2 separate regions of the Homo sapiens genome follow, and region 1 is linked to region 2. The links are contacts of gene promoters, found by promoter capture Hi-C in blood cells and fetal thymus (Javierre and others, 2016). All regions are on one chromosome and are shown on one strand. The core of a region is centred on a gene start or on the middle of the fragment in contact, and the rest is flanking DNA. Distances in the headings are between cores, read along the strand shown. Region 1 holds the start of UROC1 (urocanate hydratase 1). Region 2 has its middle 7.7 kb from the start of PLXNA1.

What was found. Contacts are between HindIII fragments. The CHiCAGO score rates a contact against its expected background, and 5 or more counts as called.
Region 1: the fragment with the promoter of UROC1 here is called in contact with a fragment that was not itself captured in region 2 in 1 of 17 cell types (M2 macrophages); the score reaches 6.1 in M2 macrophages.

Annotation. Positions count from the first base shown.
Region 1 is chr3:126,515,534-126,519,511 of GRCh38, reverse strand. It overlaps UROC1 (urocanate hydratase 1), which reads left to right and starts at 1,739. Exons shown (of 20, transcript NM_144639.3): 1 at 1,739-1,918. The coding sequence starts at 1,793. The HindIII fragment of the contact is 15,536 bases long and covers 1-3,978 here.
Region 2 is chr3:126,973,391-126,977,515 of GRCh38, reverse strand. No RefSeq gene overlaps it. Among named protein-coding and RNA genes, the nearest start is that of PLXNA1, 7.7 kb to the left of the region's middle. The HindIII fragment of the contact is 2,890 bases long and covers 69-2,958 here.

The sequences.
Region 1 (3,978 bases), core at 490-2,989, 460 kb after region 2:
CTCACAAAACTCAGAGAAACCCTTTATTATTGATGTGTACTGGTTTCTTATAAAGGACATTACGAAGAATATAGATGAACAGCCAGATGGACAAGATGCCCAGGATGAGGTGTGGGGAAGATGCACAGAGCTTCTGTGCCTTCTCTGGGCATGACCCTCTCCAGGAATCTGCCTGTGCTCAGCTGCTGGGAAGCTCTTCTGAACCCTGTCCTTTTGGGTTTTTAGGGAGGCTTCATGACCTACACAACTGACTAAATCATTGGCCTTTGGTGATCAACTCAGCCTTCAGCTTCTCTCTCCTCCCCAAAGTCAGGAGGCTGCTGAAGGTTCCAACCCTCTAATCACAGGTTGGTTCCCTTGTCAACCAGCCCCAATCCTGAGGATATCAGGGATCTGCCAAGAGTCCCCTCGGTAGAACAAAAGAGCTCTGCTCCTGTCACCCAGGAAATTCCAACAGCTTTAGGAGCTCTGTGTCAGGAACCAGGGTCAAAGATCAAACGTTAGAACAAAAGATTCTCCTAGAGTTTCCATCTACCAGGGCCTCAGGAGCTTTGTGGCAGGAACAGGGAAGAGATCAAAGCCTGTTTCTTATTCTATCACAGTCTCACATCACCCCCATTAAGGGCGCCCTCCCTGTGCTGCAAAAGGGCCAGCGTGGATGGGAGGGTGCTAGAGCCAGACCTCTGGGTCCTCAGGGCTCCAATCTCAGCTCCCCCCATGACTGGCTGTGTAACCCTGGGCAAGTCCCATCCCTCTCTCCACCTGTTTCTTCATCCTTAAAATGGGGGCAACGAACCCCTCAGGGCTGACCCACAGGATGCTCTCAGAGGAGCAAGCACTCAGAAGGCAGCTGGGCTTCCACGTGCGGGCCCTGCACTGGGGCTTGCCTAACGGCACTCCACCGCCTTGCAGCTGAGCTGTCCATCGCCACCCACTTGTGTAGACAGGACATGGCCAAAGGCCACAGGGCTGGTCAGGCTCGCACTGGGTACACCCAGGTGTGTTGCTTCCCCCGGACTGCTGGAATTCAGCTTCGGCCACTTCTTGGCTGTGTGAGGGAGACCCGGGCCTTGGTTTCTCCATCCATAGCATAGGGCTCATGAAGAGTGCTTTCTGGCAGAGTTGTTAACAGATTTGGGAATGAGGGTCATCCCTCAGGCAGGTCCTTCAAAAAGAGCTTTGGGAGGGGGTAGAGTGGTGTGCCCCCCAGCGGGAGCTGAAGAGAGCACACTTGCCACTGAGGGCCCCCACTGCACCTGTCACCCAGCCCTCCAGTGGGGAGCCAAGGAGGGCACACCTGCTGCTGGGTGCTCCCGCTCCACCTGTCACCCCACCCCCCAGCAGGAGGTAGCAGGAGGAGGGGCTCTACACTCTGTGTCCGGTTCAGTGTCACATGGCTTCCCATCTCCTCATCATCAAGATGCAGATCCCCACATCGAATGTTTGGTGTGGTGCACCAGAGGGCTGCCACAGCACACCCCAGCATTAGAGCCCCACCCACCCCCAAAGCTGTCCCGGACAGCACAGCCCTCCTGGAAGGGGAAGTGAGCCCAGCCCCCCTCCCCACTGTGAAGCCTGCCCTCCCGCAGAGCAATGTCCTCCCCAGGTCAGCGCTGCAAGTGCCCTACCTGAGGCCAGTGACCCTCCGACCTGCACATGGCTCCCTGCACAGGCCAGGCGCCCAATGAGAGGCTGGAGGAGGTGGCCCTGGGGCTAGAGGTCCCTGCCCTATCTGCCCAGTCTCTTCCTGGCCTCCCCACAGTGCTGGCCTCTGCCTCCATCTCAGTCACACATGTCTAGCCTCCAGGCGCTGTGCTCTGGCCTGCCCCTGCGGCCCCTCCCAGAGAACCGGGGACGCCAGGCTGGGGTGCCCCATGCCCCTGTCAGGACCCCCAGCCTCAGCCCTGTGGAGAAACAGGTAAGCAGTGGGCCCGTGCTCCCGAGGCCTTGGCCTCTAGGCATCCTCCAGGTGGTCCATAGTGAGCACCCAGGCTTCCTGCCCTCTTAGTGGGAGCTGCTCAGCCGCCCACCCTGGACTCCAGGGGCTCCAGCCTGTGCGGGTGCAATGCACAGTGGACTCTGTCTCTTGGATGCAGCCGCCCTTGGGTGCAGGATCGCCGTGCCTGTTTACAGATGAGGACCCTGAGGCTCAAGGTCAGCAGCCGGTCACTGGTGGCACTTTGGCCACCTCCAGTGGGAGGAGGCCTTGGGTGGGTGTGAAGTGTCCCACACCAAGCGCCGCGTCCACCCCAACACTCAGAACGTTTGCACACAGGTCAGCTCTTATTTTCATTTGCAAATGTCCCTCCCGCAAATCTCTGGAGAACGTGCGGCTGCATGGCTGAACCCTGTAGCTGGCAGGCAGTTGCCAGGGAAAGATGGGCTGAGGCCAGTATCCCCTCATCTAACAGCAAAGCAGTCCAGGGATGGTGCACGCTTGCCAGTGGTGCCCTGTCTGGGAACCTCCCTTTTGTCATTTGTCAGCTTGAGATGAAAATGGTGACACCAGGGGGTTGTGGAGAAGAGTAATGAAATAAAGTAGGTGACACGGTTATATAGACTTTCCTCCTACTTTTTACTGGAAACTACTCAAGATTTTCAGAAACAGTAGAGAAGTGGAAACTGCAAACAAGCATAAAGATTAAAAGAGGAATCCTACCTCCCCAGGTAAAGATGGCTGCCCTTTGCACCGGAGCCCACTGGACTTTTCTGGAGCCACCCACAGAGGCCTAACAGGACACAGTGGGGACAGTAGGGGTCACTCAGGGCAGAGCTGGCGCTGGGGAAGGGAGAAAGGGGAAGCAGGTTGGTGGGTGTGGGGGTGGAGGGGAGTTGGGGGGCTAGGAGGATGCTGGGGGTCCTTGTGGGAGTGGGGCACTGGGGGCAGGTGGAGCGGGTGCTGGAGGGAAAGGGAAATGGGGGAGGGGCCAGCAAGGTAGAGTAGGTAGTGGGCACTGGGGGGAGGGGGGAGGGTAGGTGGTGGGCACTGGGGGGTGGGAGGGTAGGTGGTGAGTTCTGGGGTGGGGGGATGGTAGGTGGTGGGTGCTGGGTGATGAGGGGGAGGGTAGGTGGTGGGTGCTGGGGTGATGAGGGTGAGGGTAGGTGGTGGGCGCTGGGGGTGGGAGGAGGCTAGTTGGTGGGTGCTGGGGGACGAGGGGGAAGGTAGGTGGTGGGTGCTGGGGTGACAAGGGGATGGGTAGGTGGTGGGCACTGGGGGGTGGGGGACATTAGGTGGTGGGTGCTGGGGTGATGAGGGGGTGGGTAGGTGGTGGGCGCTGGGGGGCAGGGGACAGTAGGTGGTGGGTGCTGGGAGTTGGGAGGATAGGTGGTGGGTGCTGGGGTGAGGAGGGGGTGGGTAGGTGGTGGGCGCTGGGGGGCAGGGGACAGTAGGTGGTGGGTGCTGGGAGTTGGGAGGATAGGTGGTGGGTGCTGGGGTGAGGAGGGGGTGGGTAGGTGGTAGGCGCTGGGGGACAGGAGGAGGGTAGATGACAGGCACTTGGAGACAGTGAGGGTAGGTGGTGGACATTGGGGGGCGGAGAGGGTAGGTGTCAGGTGCTGGGGGACAAGGGAGGGTAGGTGGTGGGTGTTGGGGGTGGGGGAGGGTAAGTGTTGGGTGCTGGGGGTGGGGGGAGGGTAGGTGGTGGGCACTGGGGGTTGGGGAGAGGGTAGGTGGTGGGTGCTGGGCAGATGAGGGGGAGGGTAGGTGGTGGGTGCTGGGGGTTGGGGGAGGGTAAGTGGTGGGTGCTGGGGGTTGGGGAGAGGGTAGGTGGTGGGTGCTGGGCAGATGAGGGGGAGGGTAGGTGGTGGGTGCTGGGGGTTGGGGGAGGGTAAGTGGTGGGTGCTGGGGGTTAGGGGGAGGGTAGGTGGTGGGTGCTGGGGGTTGGGGGATGGTAGGTGGTGGGTGCTGGGCAGATGGGAGGAGGGTAGGTGGTGGGTGCTGGGGAGTGGAAGGGGGTAGGTGGTGGGTGCTGGGCAGAT
Region 2 (4,125 bases), core at 264-2,763:
GCTGGCCACTGGCTTGGTTCATGCCCACACAGCCCTTCTGCTCCTGGTGGCCTTGGCAGCTCCAAGCTTTTCTTTCCTCATAGGTCCAGGAAAGTTCCCAGAATGAAGCCTCAGTGAACCAGATTGGATCGTGTAGCCCCCTTGAACCCATCACTGTGGCCCTATAGTTGGCTGAGATCAGGGACCTCTCCAGAGTGAGTAGGTGGAACTGGGGAAGTGGTTACCCCAAAGAAAATCCAGGTGCAGTTTTCAAACAAGTGGGCCTGGATGCAGGACAGGTCAAACCCACCAGGAGCCACTGCAGCCCCGATCTGCACCTCCACAGCCAGCACAGCCCACCCGCTGTCCACCTTCCGCCACATCCAGCTGGGACCAAATGCTCAGCACGCACAAGGCAGGAATCCACGTGCTTATCCGCTGAGCTCCTCTATGAGGTGGGCAGACTGCTGTCACCCATCTACACATGTGGACACAGCAGCAAGTCAGGGGCTGTTCTGACCAAGGCCACAGCCAGGTGGTGGTGGGGCCCAGTTTCCAGAGCAAGTGGTGTGGCTCCCCTGTGGGCGCTGCAACCCATGTTCTGCCATGTGGCACAGTGGGTAGTGTGGAGATGCCTGCGCTCAGGACCCTGTGGGGCCAACAGGCCACCCTACAGCCATGTCTCCCTGGTACCCAGTGCTCTTTGCACACTGTACTCTTGCTCCAAAGACACCTCCACATCAGGCCTTTCCTCATGCTGTGCTCCTGGCCAAGAGGGTCCCCACCTGGCCCTTTCCTCTTTATTTTTATTTTTATTTTTTTTTAATTTTGTAGAGATGGGGTCTACCTATCTTGGCCAGGCTGGTCTCAAACTCTTGGACTCAAGTGATCCTCCTGCCTCAGCCTCCCAAAGTGCTGGGATTAAGGCGTAAGCCACTGTGTCCAGCCACCATTCATTTTTCAAGGCCCAAGCTCCTTCTCCCCTCCTCCAGGAAGCCTCTCTGCAGCCCCCACCCCACCCCAGGAGCCCTCCTTGGCTTCCTTTCCCTTTGACCACTCTGGGCGTAGGTCTGTCACCACCCCACTCCCGGTCTGGAGACAAAACCAGGTCAATGTCAATACTTTATTGCACAAAAGACAGAGTAGCAGAGTCCCTCCCCCTGCCCCCCACCTGCCCACACACATGCAAGCAATCCCTGGAGACTGGGGGGACTTGGCACTGCCTCCTCCTGGGGCTGCAAACTCAGATGACTTCAGGGGCCAAGTAGTTGATGGAGGTAAATAGTGAGATGGGCCAAATGCCGGAGCAGGCCAGGGCTGCAGCAGCAGTAATCGGTGGAATGCATGCACATGTTATTGGGAGAGTGTGGAGTGAACAAGACCTTTCAAAAGTGTGAAGATCCCAGCCAGCAGGCCTCCAGTTTGCAGTCCGTGGCTCAGTCCAGCTCCTACCACTCCCAGAATGCTGCTTGTCATCCTGGGGGTCACAGTCAGGTCACCAAAGATGTTCCCAAGTATGGGAGCCCTCTCCAGGGCCATAGCCTCTGGAAAAGCCATCCCTGGCACCCTCTTTTTAAGGCCTAGCAGCCCTTGCCCCCACTGCCCTGCCAAGAAGCAGGGCAGCAAGAGATCAGCCTCCTGCTTCCCTGGAGATGAGGGAAGCAACCCAAGTTTTCTCATTGTGCTAAAAACACCTGGGTTAAAGTGGGGATGCTGGGTTTCCCTCCCCCATTCCTGATGTAATGGGGCAGCACCCCTCTCTGTCTACCATATGGGGTCAGGAGAGGCCAGCTGTGAAACAGAAGATTGAAATGTAATCCAGAGTCTCAACATACAATACCCCAAACTTTCAAGATCCAATAAGAAAATCACCTGTCATAGCAAGAACCAGAGAAATGTCAGTTGTACCAGAAAATACAATCAGCATACACCAATACTGGTATATGTTGAACAGGAAGGAATATCAGGATTACCTGATGAGGCTTTTAAAGCAGCCATCCTAAAGGTGCTTTGATGAGCAATTATGAACATGCTTGAAACAAATGAAAATAAAGAATGTTTCAGCAAGGAAATAGAAGTTATAAAGAGAACCAAATGGACACTTTAGAATTTTTTAAAAACATACAATAATCAGAATAAAAACTTAATCGATAACTCCAAAGCAGAACAGAGGGGACAAAGGAAAGATGCAGTGAACCTGGAGATAGAGCAATATAAACCACCCAGTCTGAAACAGAGAGAAAATAGACTAGGGGTGGGAGAAAAGAGTTCTCTGAGAGATAACAAAAGATCTAATATTCATGTCATCTAATTGCCAGGAGGAGAAGAGAAAGAGGACAAAGCCGAAAAAATATTGAAGAAGCAATCTCCTAAACTTGGCAAAAGACATAAATGTAAGGATTTAAGAAGCTGAATGAACTCCAAACGTTATAAACCCAAGGAAATCCACACCAAGACATATCACAGTCAGACTTCCAAAAACTAAACAACAACAAACCCCAATTTTGAAAGCAGCCACGTAACCACCTTCCAAAAAACATGGATGTCTCATCAGAAAGCATGGAGGCAAGAAATAAGTGGAACGTTTTTAAGTGCCATAAGAAAAGAGCTGTCAACCATAAATTCTATACCCAGTGAAACTATCCCTCAGGAATGAGGAGGAATCAAGACCTTCTCAGGTGAAGGGAAAAGTAAGTTTGTTGCCAGCAAACCTACTGTGAAAGGAGGGCCAAAGGAAGTTCTTCTCATGGAAAGAAAGTGATAAGGAAGGAATCTTGAGACATCAGGAAGAAAGTACAATGGAAAGAGCAAAACTATGGGTAAATACAATGGACCCCTTCTCTGAAGGTTTCTAAGTTACATTTGGTGGTTGAAGCAAAAATTATAGCATTGTCGAATGTCTCAATGTATGTAGAAAAAATATTTAGGATAATTATATTATAAATGGAAGGGGAAAAGGGACACAAAGAGAGGGAAGCTTTCTACATGTCACTCGAAATGGTAAAATGTTGATGGCAGTAGACTGTGATAAGTACATATGTATAATGCAGTATGGCAGCCACTAGAAATCTATACAAAGATATACACTAAAAACACTGTACAAAAACCAAAATAGATGCTTAAATATGTCCAAGTAACACTCAGCAAGGCAAAAAAAAGAAAATAGAGAAACACCACCACCAACAAACACAGGAACAAACAAAGCAAAAAATAAAACAGCAGACTGAAGTTATGTCAGTAATTACAGAAAATGTAAATGGCATAATTCCATTTATATAACATTTTTGAAATAACAAAATCATAGAGATGGAGAGGAGATTGGCGGCTGCCAGGAGCTGGGGTAGGGGGGTGATTGTCACTGTGAAAGGGAGTACCAGGGGGTCTCCATGGAGAGGGAACAGCTCTGTATCCTGGTTACAGGGACAGAAACATGGATCTCCATGTGTGATAAAGTGACACAGGGCTTGACACCCTTGTCACACCAGTGCCAATGTCCCTTTTCTGATGTGTGGTGGTTATGTAGAATGTGACCATTGGGGGAAACTGGGTGAAGGGTACACAGGCTTCTCTCTCTATTATCTTTCCAACTTCCTGTGAATCTGTAATTGTTACAGATTATCATTATTTCAATATAAAAAGTTAAAAAAAATACCTTTGCTGTTGCTCTTACACCAGCACCAACTCCACTGCTGGCGTTTCCTCTTGGGCAGAACCAGTGCCCTGTGCACCCCCATAGAGCTCACAGGCCAGCAGGCCTCTGGGGGCCATACCCAGCAGAGGCCATCACAGCAATCCTGGGCTGGGCTGCCTGGTCCCAGCTCCCAGAGCCATCTCTTCCTTCTCCAGGCCTCAGAGCTCATATCACCTCTTCAGAGGAGCCCCGATTGATTCCCTGATGGAAAATGCATCCCAGTCCCATTTAACCAACTGATAGTCTCTGGTCCATTCAGCTGTTTATTATTCCGGCCCCACAAATAGCAGCTCTGCAAGCCAGGGAGCCCATCTTCTCAGGGGCACAGAGCCTGGTGCCAGGCAGAGCATCCATCAGGGGCTGTGGGGGTGCAGTTGCTATCAGTTGCTGCAGCATCACAAGTCGCCCTAAAATGTAGTGGCTTCAGCCAGTAGCTGCTCTTCTCTCTTATGGTC